Regions from separate parts of the Homo sapiens genome. Here region 2 is linked to region 1. The links are contacts of gene promoters, found by promoter capture Hi-C in blood cells and fetal thymus (Javierre and others, 2016). All regions are on one chromosome and are shown on one strand. The core of a region is centred on a gene start or on the middle of the fragment in contact, and the rest is flanking DNA. Distances in the headings are between cores, read along the strand shown. Region 1 holds the start of ACSL4 (acyl-CoA synthetase long chain family member 4). Region 2 overlaps LHFPL1 (LHFPL tetraspan subfamily member 1).

What was found. Contacts are between HindIII fragments. The CHiCAGO score rates a contact against its expected background, and 5 or more counts as called.
Region 2: a contact is called between a fragment that was not itself captured here and the fragment with the promoter of ACSL4 in region 1, in 1 of 17 cell types (non-activated CD4 T cells). The highest score is 9.0, in non-activated CD4 T cells.

Annotation. Positions count from the first base shown.
Region 1 is chrX:109,730,390-109,736,725 of GRCh38, forward strand. ACSL4 (acyl-CoA synthetase long chain family member 4) reads right to left here and starts at 2,868. Exons shown (of 16, transcript NM_001318510.2): 1 at 2,750-2,868. LOC105373311 (a long non-coding RNA gene) reads left to right here and starts at 2,122. Exons shown (of 1, transcript NR_158569.1): 1 at 2,122-4,569. RefSeq lists enhancers at 2,231-2,280, 2,341-2,480 and silencers at 2,603-2,723, 2,821-3,130. The HindIII fragment of the contact is 5,191 bases long and covers 1,226-6,336 here.
Region 2 is chrX:112,672,141-112,678,476 of GRCh38, forward strand. The region is part of intron 1 of LHFPL1 (LHFPL tetraspan subfamily member 1); the gene reads right to left. Among named protein-coding and RNA genes, the nearest start is that of LHFPL1, 4.6 kb to the right of the region's middle. The HindIII fragment of the contact is 3,674 bases long and covers 82-3,755 here.

The DNA of each region.
Region 1 (6,336 bases), core at 1,618-4,117:
TCTACAGGCTACAATTAATAGAATCATCTCTTCCTCCCCTATGGAAACTTAACTTCTCCAGAATTTTGTTTGTCCTTGATTTGACTGTTGTTGTTTTTAACAAAAATAAACTGGATGTACATCTGTCTCTCCACATGCCCCCCAACCATCTCCATCAGCCCAAAGTATAAACTCATAGAGTAGGGTTTGTCTTAACCATCATGTCCTGAGGGCCTGACATACGTGACAGATGAAGGAAGAAGATAGTTGAATGAATTAATAAATGAATGAGATGCCCACATATTATTTTAAAGTTCCTAGCCAATTACAGTTGTAAGGCAGTATGTGAGTGCGGTGGCGCGATCTCGGCTCACTGCAAGCTCCACCTTCCGGGTTCACGCCATTCTTCTGCCTCAGCCTCCCAAGTAGCTGGGACTACAGTCACCCACCACCACGCCTGGCTAATTTTTTGTATTTTTAGTAGAGACGGGGTTCCACCGTATTAGCCAGGATGGTCTCGATCTCCTGACCTCATGATCCGCCGGCCTCGGCCTCCCAAAGTGCTAGGATTACAGGCGTGAGCCACCACACCCAGCCATTCCCTTATAAATTTCTAAAAGCCATGGACATTTAAAAAATAGTGCGGTATAACACACATTTCACTTGCAAGCAGAAATTAACATAATACCCAACATTTGTAAAATGCTTCTGAGTTTATAGATTTTCACATATAATTATTTATTTAATCAGGATTAAGAACTAAGTATACCTAAATTGAAACCACTATACACAAACCTTTGAGAAAAACATTCTAGTCAACTGGTATAACAGGATTTATAACAGCCTTAACGCAAATTGCATTATATGTGTGTGTGTATACCTATATATACACGTGTGTATATATATATTTGTCATATATATTCATTATAAGAATATATCATTCAAATTGGGGGACTTGTGGATCATTTCAACAACCATAAAGACACTTATTTTACAGATGCAAAAACTAAGAGAGGTGAAGTGACTTGTTCAAGGTTAAATATATATCTAGAGTTGGGTCTAGAACCTGAGCCTCTCCAGAGTTCCAATTCATTTCTCTTGTCTGAATTGAACAAGACTCTTCTTTCTTCACCCATCTCACCCCTACCAAAAATACTGAAAGAAATATCTTAATCTAAATCACTTGTGTTTTTAAATAGGGGGTTTTCCAAAAAAAAAAAAAAACCCACAAAATTGAATTTACTCAAGCTTTCAATTGCTGTATTACACCTTCCATGGATTTTTAGTTGTCAAATTATTTCTTATAGCAGGACAATAAGGTACTTTATTCTAAGGTACAAGTATACTAACAGTTTAATGTTTCATCCCCCACCTAAATGGCAGAGAGTGTTAATTCTAACAGGAGTCTTACATGTCTTACACTTTAGCAGTTTCAATCAAAAGATGAGCTATTTTACAATTTAAGGAAGAGGCCTTACACTGTTAAAATCTTGACCGATATGCTCAATGGCAGTACCATCATTGAATCTCCACCTGCTGCCTTACGTATCAAGAACATTTAAAAGTCTTTCTTGTTAGAGACAAAATAAAAGAAAAACTAAGGTGACAAGCGACTATGAGAAATAAGGCTTTAATCAGGTTAAATTTGCATTATGCAGCCTGCATGAATTTAGAGGTCCTAGAATCAAAACACTAGAAGGAACCTTTGATATGCTCTAGTTCAACAGACTGATTTTTGCAGAAGAGGAAACTGAAGCGCTGATGAGACCATTAACTGATAAAGCAAACCGCTTACTTTTTCAAAGGGATTCATTTCAATGCCATTTTACCCTTATTTTGCATCTCACTGTTGTTTCTCAGAGCGACGATTGACCTTTTTTTAGGTGAAAAGAGCGAATAGAGCGTATTAATTTCAAGAGGGTGAAAAATGCCTTTGAAGGAGGAGATGCTGGAGTGAAGAGGAGAAATGACGTCTTATTTAAAATATGTAACCCCTTGATGGGGTTAGACAATGAATCATATTCTCCTAGATTTTTCTATGTCTATAGACATCAGCCACAGTTCTTTCAGGCACTCAAACGAGAGGAAGAGGAAGTGAATAAAGCTCATACTAAATATATAGCACCCACTGAAGGCAGGGATGTAGACAGAAAGAACGGGGGTGGGGGAAGGAAGGAAAGCACGCTTCGCCAGGATCCAGCTGTTTTCTAACAAACCTAAGCCTACGGAAGCTAGGAAGATATCGGAAGCAAGGAAGATATCGGAAGCGACGGCATCCCTCAAATTCGAGAGGGCGGATGCCTCTAGGGCTAGAGAGGCTCCCTAGCCCTCAGTTACAGAGCGACTGGGAGGGGACAAAATGGAGTTGAGGTTTAGGGGCACCCTAAAGGTCGTTTGGAGGTCTAGCAAGCACTTCATGGTCTCCTCCGGAAAGGGCCGTGGCAAAGCCTAGTACCCCGATCAGGAAGATGACTTCTGGCCCTCGGGATGCGGTGAGCGGCAGGAAGAGGCAGGCTGGGGTTCCGAGGACCCCAGAGTCCATCACAGGAGCAGATACAGTGACCTCGGGAATCTTCCCGGCCCCAGCGGAGGCGAGCGGATAGATAGCCCTGGCTCAAGGAAAAAAGCGAGCCGACTCCAGGAGCTGGAATGCCCACCCAACCTCCTCCCGGCTCAGGTGAGGTACGCCAGTCCCCCTCTGGAAATGGGGCCCTGGTACCGACAGGGCAGGGGTGCCGGGGCCGCAACCTCCCCATCCAGGGATACTCACCGGAGGGGCGGCCCACCGCGTCTTCGCAGCCGGCCGGCGCCTGGCACTCGGAAAGCTCGCAAAAAGGAACCGCGTGCCCGCTAGCGCTGGGACGAGGAGGAGCGCGCGGCGGAGGCCAGAGAAAAAGCCGCAGCGGCGCGCGCGCACCCGGACAGCCGGCGGAGGCGGGACTCAGCGCGAGCCCGGAAAAGACGCGCCCGGAGGGGCGGGCGGAGCGGGGGCGCGCGGTGGTGTGGCAGAGCCAGCCGAATCGCTGGCTGCAGACGGCTCGGCCCACCCACGCGCCCGCCCCCGCTCGCCCGGGACGTCAGTCGAAAAGGCGGAGCCGAACGGGCTTCCCGGGGCGCGGGAGGGGCGCTGCGAGGAAGGCGAGGCGGCTAACGGCTCGCCTCAAGTTGTTGCTCCCGCTGGCGATCCGCTTCTGTCAGTCTCGCTGCTGGTGTCGTTGAGTGTGTTTCGGGATGTCCTTGCGCCTAACAGCAGTGAGGCGCAGAATTGGCCCACGCCCTCACCTGCGGCTTGCTTCGCAGGACTCCACCCCAGGATAAAAGTTCCCCTCGGGTCATCTTCCAGCTGCCCTCAAAAGACACTCATTTTTGGGTTTCACTGCTCCTCTTTAAGAGAGCTATCTTGAACACTTTGACTAAAAGCATCTTGCTCCTGTAAGCCTGAACTAATGCCTCTCATCCGTTTATCTTGCCTCTTACTGCGTTAAGATCCCCGCTCACTCCCACTGATGAAATATCACAAGGACGCAGGATTTTCACGTTGTCTTTCATTTCCACGATGGTATCATGGCAAAAAAACCCCCAACTGATAAGGAAAAGTCACCGCAGCTTTGTGACATCTTACTAGCCCTGATCATTGCTTATAAGCCGGTCATACGAATGCTGTTCCAACAGATGCAAGAAATTGCTATTAAAATTAAAATGCCAGCGAACTATCTGAGGGCTTCAAAAGGGACAGACCATAATTGCAAATGAGGCCTGATAAACTGCCAAGAATATATCACCCAAAAAAATAAATCTCAAGAATTCTTCCAGTTCCCTGATGCGTAATGGTGAACTAGCTTCCTGTTCCTGATGGTAATTGACATTTCACTTCACTTGCTGATTTCCATTTTCCCATAGAATTACCATTTGTGCTTGTGTGTGTGTATATATATATGTATATATAAAATGCCTTACCACCTGAGATTACAAGCTAGAGTAGTTCTTCAGTGTGCATCACAATTATCTGGGGTGCTTGTTGAAATGTAGGTACCTGGAGCTACAACCCCCAGGTATTTTGATTCTGATCTGGGTAGGGATAAGAAATTTGAATTTTTAATAAGCAGCCCAGGTGACACTAAAAGTGGTTAGCTGAGAGCACAGAGCTATAGTTTTTGTGTTACTACTCTAAAGCCATATTACCAATTCAATTTCCAAGAAACCCACCCACTTACATATAATATACCTATAAATATTGCTAAGACAGTCATGTAGCTTCCTTTTTCAAGATTGACCTACAAAGTTCAGTACTTCAAACAACGAGTTTAATTGTCATGTTTATTTTATGAAATCTTGTTTTAATACCAGAAATAAGCAATCATATGTCAGGTACGTAATTCACTGGGTAACTATGATGTACAGAGCACTATCACCTACAGTTGGGTTAACACAAATGAAATTGAAGAAATGAATATCGCTGTTCTCAATAAAGTTAGTGTCTAGTTGTGGAATTAAAATATAGATATAATACAAACCCAGTGTAGCACATAAATCAGTGTGCTGGATGAAGATGAAAAAGAACTTGTAATTAAAGAGTACTTTTGCCAGTTTCCTTTATTGTCGGTCTCTTAGCCCAGACATTTTCAATTAGGTAATTTCCTCTGAACAGAGTCTTCAGCTTACTGAAGTTCCTCCAGCTCTACAAGATATAAAGGAAAGAAATCACTATAGCCTGAAACTATCCGTTTTTTGGTATACAAATGTGTGTATGATATACATATAGATATGTTTATCAGACCAAGAAACTACTTGGATTTTCAAGATCTCTTATTACTTAAGCTATTCATTAGTGTGTACAGTTCTGGCTGTCTTCATCACCTACCACATCTCACCTTCTTCCACATTTAACTGCACCCAAGTTGAAGAGGAAAGAAGAACTATACCTCCAAAAAGGAAACCAAGTATAACCACGCTATTTCCAGCTTTCCTTTTTCGGAGTCAAAACAAACCTTGCTTAATTTCTTGTCATCAGAAACCTTCCAGAAATTACTGCCCAGGAGCAAAATATTTCCCAAGCAGCTGTCTGACATTTTAAAGAGAACATTTGCAACGTTGTTTATTAGTTAGGAAGATAGGGTATTATTATCCCTATTTCACAGATGAAGAAATAGATGCAGGTTAAGTGTCTTGTCCAGTCACACAACTAAGTAGTAACAGAGCCTGAATTTCCTACTACACTGCTTATGACTCCTAGACCAGGGTGCTTGCCGCTACATTAAGCTGCCTCTGTAATGAGTCCTACCCAGAACTACCAACCCAATTAGAAATGGAGTAGATAAACGTATGGAAATGGAAGAGTTAGGAAAATGTACAATGCAATTGACAGATTCAAAATGCAATGTAATAAGTACTAAAAGCATGAGAATTAGTCTGTTAGAAGCTAAACAGAATTTAAAGGACAGCTCTGTTAACAGGCACTGATATTTAGGCCTTGCCTATTTTATTATTCTGTAACAAGAAGCTGAAACAGATAGCCAGGCTGCTCTTGGCATTAGTTATTTATGGAAGGGCAGAAAACAACTGTTCTTCATTGACTGTGTAACAAGCCTTTGCGTGTTAAACTTCACGGGTTTGTAGAATAATAATAATTTTCTCCTGTGGTCTAAATACAAGCAGCAGGGCTTCATAATAATATTTGCATTGACAAGTTGTGTTAGATTTTGTCATTAACAAACCTTATTTTTTGCAGACCCAACAACCAGGCCAAATATTGTCTTTAGTGGCTTGTGTTAAACAACCGGTGAAATCAGAAACCTACGTAGATGATCATCTCACTGTGAACATAAATAATAACCTAAGCCACTCCTTTCAAAAATGATCAAAGGCATAGTAGCTACATCTAAATGTTATTTTTGAGAAATGATTTGTTTTTTCAAAATAACTATTTCTTTTCATTCTGGCACATTTTTCAGGTTTTTAAATTAATGGAAACACCAAAACAAATAGACATCTAGTGCACCCAGATAGGAAGACACAGTATTGCATGGAGTCAAGTTTTTCCAAATTAATCCGTCAAGACAGTGTGGTCCACATCAAAATCACAGCAGGATTTTAATGGAACTTAATTTCGGTTTCTCTCATGAAACTCATTTGTCCTTTTTAAAGATAACTACAACACCCTCTAAATAAAATCCTCCACAGTTATCCTTGAAATTGTTTGTGTGACCTTCCCATAAAGAATCAAAAATAACAAAATATTTTTATTATCCATAAGGCCATGAGTATGTGAAAAATCTATTGTGGTTGTCATTGAATCTGTAAGAAAGTTGCCTTTGGTATATTTTTGCCCACTCTCTGTAGTGATTCTAGCCTAGTAAT
Region 2 (6,336 bases), core at 669-3,168, 2.9 Mb after region 1:
CAACTTTCCAACCAGGAGAGGTTATCTCTGGAATGGCTATTAAGAAAAGCTTCCTTGTCCTTTGCTGGATATAATCCAAAAAGCTTCTCAAAGTTCTGAAATAGATCAGGATCAGGCACTCCCTACCTTGCAGCAGGAACATATAGCTGTAAGGACCTTTCAAGGTCCCTTTTGGAACAAGTAATCTTGTAATCAAGACGCTGAGAGTCTTTCCAGATCTAGTTCTTCAGCTCAGCTCACAAATGGTTTTCACAGACCCCTCTGTCAAAAATCAACCACTTTCCTCCCAACTCCATTAATCTGCCATTGCTTTCTGGCCTGTTTCTCTATTGGGCCGGCTAGAGACCACACTGCAGCTTGATGACAGCACTGTGAATGTCTCCAGCAGGCAGATGGTGGAATATGTTTCAAAAACTTCTCCATGATTCACCACCATTACTTAAAGTTATATGTGGTGGTGTAGAGGACTGGGAAGGAGGTTGGGGGACCCAAAGCAGGGGAAGCGCAGGAACTGGCTGTATGGGGTCATCGCCACATTGCCAATTTTAGACACTGACAGGAACAAGCAGCAGAGGCACTAAGTGTCTCAGGGTCTCAGTCATGAGCCCTTTCACAACCATTGTCAAACAGTGCCTGACACAGAGCAGGCAGTCCATTTCAAGTTTGTTTAGTGAAACCCATTTCATAGAATCATTCAATTTCCAGATGGGTAGGGAACTTAATGAATCATTTAATCCAACCTTCTTGTTTTACATATGGGAGAATTTTGCCCAGTAAAGGAGGAAGTGATTTTCTTCAAGTCACAGAGTAAGTTAGCAAGCAGCAACATCAGAACCTGAAACCTGATCTGCAGATGCCTAGGCCAGTACTTTTCTACCACACAATGTTAAACTACCCCCTCTCCATGACTTTACAGGTGGGAATATGGAGAGGAAGTGATTTACTCAAGGGTGAAGGGCTAGTGAGGTACACTGGCCAGATCAGAGCCCAGTTATTTGATTCTTAATATAATGCTCTTTTTTTACTCAACCACAATTCCCCTATTGATACATATGTATTTTGTGCTACGTGTTTTGTGCAGGAAGGGAGCAGAGATCGTAAATTGCAGGTGCTTACTCTGGAATGTTAGGGCTTGGGAAGAAAGTGCCCTGAGCTGGGCCCCTGGGAATTAGGCTTTGTGGCTGAGAATGGGAGAAATGAGAGAAAGATGTGATGAGGGATTGAAAGGCAACAGGGGGAGAAGTGGAACTAGTTTTGAGTAATTGCTGTTAGACAGCAGGTATGGTTGGCCGCAATGAGGTAATGCCTCTGCTTGTTGTATTAGAGTTTGTAAGATTACAAAAAGTGCAAGCAGCCCTCCATTACAGACTCATTTCCTGATGAAGCAGCCCAGGCCAGAGGAGGAGAGGAAACAAGCTGACAAACAGTTATTAGCTGTGTCATCACAATCCCTTCCAAATCCATTATTATATGTGCTCTGCCCAACGGTCTTCTTAGGTTAGTAAGAAAGATATTATCCTAAATTTACAAATGAGCAAATTGGGCTTCAGAAAGACAAGCGACCTACCCAAGGGTACACAGTGATTCAACGGCAAAGCCATAATTTCTCACTTTTCTTTTACCTGAAGCCTTCCCCTACAGTATTACCCCAAAAGTATTACAATTAAAAGCCTCCATGATTTCCCATAGAGATTTTCAAAAAATATTGAAGACAGAAGGAAACCCAATTTCTCCAGACATAGTGCAAACACCATCAGGGCAAGTATATAATTTCTTTCAATCTCAGCACTTGTAGTCAAAACTAACTCCGAATGTCCCTCATGGACATCATCACCTGGAGATGAAAAGTCCCAGTATGAAGCAAAAAGAACAAATCTGGAAGCATCATACTACCTGATTTCAAACTATACTATAAGGCCATAGTCACCAAAACAGCGTGGCACTGGTATAAAAATAGGCGCATAGACCAATGGAACAGAATAGAGAACCCAGAAAAACCCAAATACAGCCAACTGATCTTCAACAAAGCAAACAAAAACATAAAGTGGGGAAAGGACATCCTTTTCAACAACTAGTGCTGGGATAATTGGCTAGCCACATGTAGGAGAATGAAACTGGATCCTTATCTCTCACCTTATACAAAAATCAACTGAGGATGGAATAAGGACTTAAACCCAAGACATGAAACCATAAAGATTCTAGAAGATAACATTGAAAAAACCCTTCTAGACATTGGCTTAGGCAAGGATTTCATGACCAAGAACCCAAAAGCAAATGCAATAAAAACAAAGATAAATAGCGGGGACCTAATTGAACTAAAGAGCTTTTGCACAGCAAAAGGAACAGTCAGCAGAGTAAGCAGACAACCCACAGAGAGAGAAAATCTTCACAATCTATACATCTGACAAAGTACTAATATCCAGAATCTACAACGAACTCAAACAAATCAGTAAGAAAAAAAAAATCCCATCAGAAAGTAGGCTAAAGACATGAATAGACAATTATTAAAAAAGATATACAAATGGCCAACAGATATATGAAAAAATGCTCAACATCACTAATGATCAGGGAAATGCAAATCAAAACCACAATGCAATGCCACCTTTCTCCTGCAAGAATGGCCATAATCAAAAAATCAAAAAACAGTAAATGTTGGCATGGATGCAGTGAACAGGGAACACTTCTACACTGGTGGTGGGAATGTACACTAGCACAGCCACTATAGAAAACAGTGTGGAGATTCCCTAAAGAACTAAAAGTAGAACTACCATTTGATCCAGCAATCCCACTACTGGGTATCTGCCTAGAGAAAAAGAAGTCATTATTGCAGCGACCTGGATGAGATTGGAGACTATTATTCTAAGTGATGTAACTCAGGAATGGAAAACTGAACATCATATTTCTCACGGATATGTGGGAGCTAAGCTATGAGGATGCAAAGGCATAAGAATGACACAATAGACTTTGGGGACTTTGGGGACTTGGGGGGAAGGCGAGGGATAAAAGATTACAAATACGGTGCAGTGTATACTACTCGGGTGATGGGTGCGCCAAAATCTCACAAATCACCACTAAAGAACTTACTCATGTAACCAAATATCACCTGTACCCCCAATAACTTATGGAAAAATAAAATTTTTTAAAAAGTCCCAATATAACAACCAGTAGGAGGGGCAGAGAACTTAAGGCAGAGGAACGGACTATCTCTGTGTAGTGCCGTGACTACAGTAGAAATGAGGGGAGGGGTTGTAATATATGGTTGTCCTCACCTGTGACAAATGAAGCTGTTAAATTAAACTACAATACTATCAACTACTGTCACCATGATTTCAGTTTAAAAGCGACGTTTTGAAGCCAAGACATAGGAAGACAAATTCTCAAAATTCAATTTAAATTAAATGTGTTTAGCTTTAGAAAAACTCATTGTCCTTCAGAATTTAGATGAAGTACTTTCAACTTTAGGAAAAACGCATAGTCCTTATTTCATTTATGACTAGGGTGACCAACTATGTCAGTTTTCCTGGGACTCAGGGGTTTCCTGGGATGTGGAATTTTTAGTGATAAAACCAGGAAAGTCCCAAAAAACCTTGGATGAAATGGTCACCCTATTTAGGACTAGAGATGTTGTGGGCTAGCACAATCCGTGGACAGCAGGTTAAGAATCACTGCCACAGATAATTCTCTAATATTCTCTTTTCAGGACTCAAACAATATAAAGTTAAAAGTGACTATGGAATTAAACATTGAAGATATGAAGCTTATACACTTTAAATGCAAACCTTTCTAAATCATCGACTTGACTTGAACGCAATCAAGAAAGAGATCTCAGAGATCCAATTACTTAATAGCTTCTGAACACAATATGAGTCTCAGCCCAACTTCCCTTGTGGCTGGATAGAGAGGCTGCAGGGCACATGGAGTCTGTTCACACACTGCTTTATGTTCACATGTGGTGGACAGTGAAGTGTATTCTAGAAAATGCTTTTAGTTATGCCACCTGCAATGGAGTAATCTCCTTCATGACAACCCTCCAAAGCAATCCAAGTTCATTCCCAGAAACCGGTTAAGTCGCTTTATATTTACATAACTAGAAATCACAAACAATGCTATATTTTATTCTATCTTAATTCCTGTTGTATACTTCATGTATGTAACAGCTTTGTTTCCCTGTCCTGGAATATCCAGCCAAACAGCCACACTGGATTTCAGGAACCAAGAACTCACCCTGATGCTCTTGTAGAGTGGTCAAGTTACCAGGCATTGATAGGATTGCAGTTGAACCTCTCTCTTTAGGTGTCACATTATCCCTCATTCCTCAGGTTTTTAAATCTGCTAGATGGGCCGCAAGCCTGTTTCCGAGATTGGTTGTATGAGATGCAGTGGATGTTGCCAGAAAGTTGTAATAAATAGGATAAAAATATGAGTTCTGTTCTGAATTTGCTATCCTTACTAAAGCCTAATGTTTGCTCATCTTTAGAGATAATGCTAGCCATTCTAGCACAGCCTCGTGGGTAGAAGTCACCTCAACCTATATGATGCAGGAAACCCACCTAAACCATACATGGCAAATGGTTATCTCCATTACTTTTAAAGAACTCTAGGAAAGGGAAATCTATAATATCTCTTAGTAGCTTAACAACTCTCACCGTCAATAAATAATTTGTTATATGCCTTTATAAACTTTTCTTGTTGCAACCTAAGGCCAGATCCTTTTGTTGGGTCCTCAGAGGTAATGGAGAACAGCTAGCCACCATCTTCCAAATGAGAGCCCTTCATCAACTCAGATTGCTAGCAGGAGACCTTTAGCCTTTTTCCCCATAATGAGCATTCTCCCTCTCCCTGTGGTGTCCAATTGCCAAGCCTTTAATCATTTGTTCTCACTTTTTTCACTTTCTTGTATACCTACTAATGTATGGGCACTTACAATGAAGTATCAATGAAAGTGAAACGTTGCTTTTATATTTCTCTTGGTGGAGAAAAACAAAGCTATTCCTTCCTGTATCACCTCCTCCCCAGTACCCACAGAAAAAGACACAAATCCTTTTGTTTCCACTTGAGCTTGTTGTGCAACTTCTGAGTTAAGGAAAGCACTGCCTTTCCCAGGGTAAGAGGGTACAGGCAAAACAGTAAGCAAATTAAAGACTAGAACATGAAGTGGTAAGAAAGGGAGTCAGTGACTTAACAGCTGCTGAGGGAAACATGCCTGCAAGACTGCTGGTTTAGGACTGGTCTGTGAAGAGCAGCTTTCTTGGCACTGGTGTTGGCAAAGGAACGTGAACAGGCCTTTCTCCTCACGCCCCCAGACAGTGTGCATTGTCTTCCTGCCAATCCTGTTACAAATACATCTTACTCAGAGTTGAGACTTCCCTAGGAAATGAATGAGATATGCAGGCATATGTTTCCAGTGGGTAAATAGAGTCCTGCTCCAGAGAAACGTGTTGGACCGATGTGACTCCTTATATCAAGTTGGGTATATAAGCAGCCTGACCATGCTAGATCTTTCTGTTTCAGACAAAGCTTCAAAAAAAAAAAAAAATACTGCTACTCCCCAAACATTTCTCTCCTCATGTTCTGCTACCTGTCTCCCTCAGGGGTTTCTTCTCCTCTGGCTATCTCCATTATGAGAAGTGCTCTGAGTTCTCCTGTGCCTGAAATCATCTCATGATGTACTCACTCATCTTGGTGACTCTAAGAAGATCTCTCTTTTGACTTGTGTCTTTTATTTCAAATTCCTCAGATTTCATGTTTGCTGAACTTCTTTCTGGGCCTTCTTCTTCCTTCCCTCCTTTTTTAGTTTGGGGTAGAAAGACCAGCAAAACTGTGTTGGGTGAGTTTATGTGTTTATTTGCATCTCTCCATCCAGAGGTGGGAATGCTCACAAGCAGGTAAGGCATTAAAAGGCAGGAAGCCAGAGACTAAGTGGAGAGAAAGGACTAACTGAGCAATTGATAACTTTGAAATGATCAACTCTAAATAAATATATTTGACCATGCAGAGACAAAGAGAGCTCATAAAAAGAACCTCCACATCAGGCCCTGGGCTATTTCCTTTCTCCAGAGTTTGAGACTGGAAAGGTAGGAACTGGAATAACCTCCCCAAATTTCATATGAGCTTCTCTCTCCTTCCCTCTCCCCAAGATGCTGCTCCTTGAGCTCCCCATCTATCCTATGATTTTAAAAGTGAGGTACCAATGAGAGATCTTCATCTCAGTTCTTATTCTGGCTAGACAGGTGCCATCATCTTCAGTGATAAGCTGGTTGGCTACGAGTTCTATCTCACACTCTCAGCTGGTTAGAAACTACCCCTATCAAGATCCCTGGCAAGACATTGTTAAGC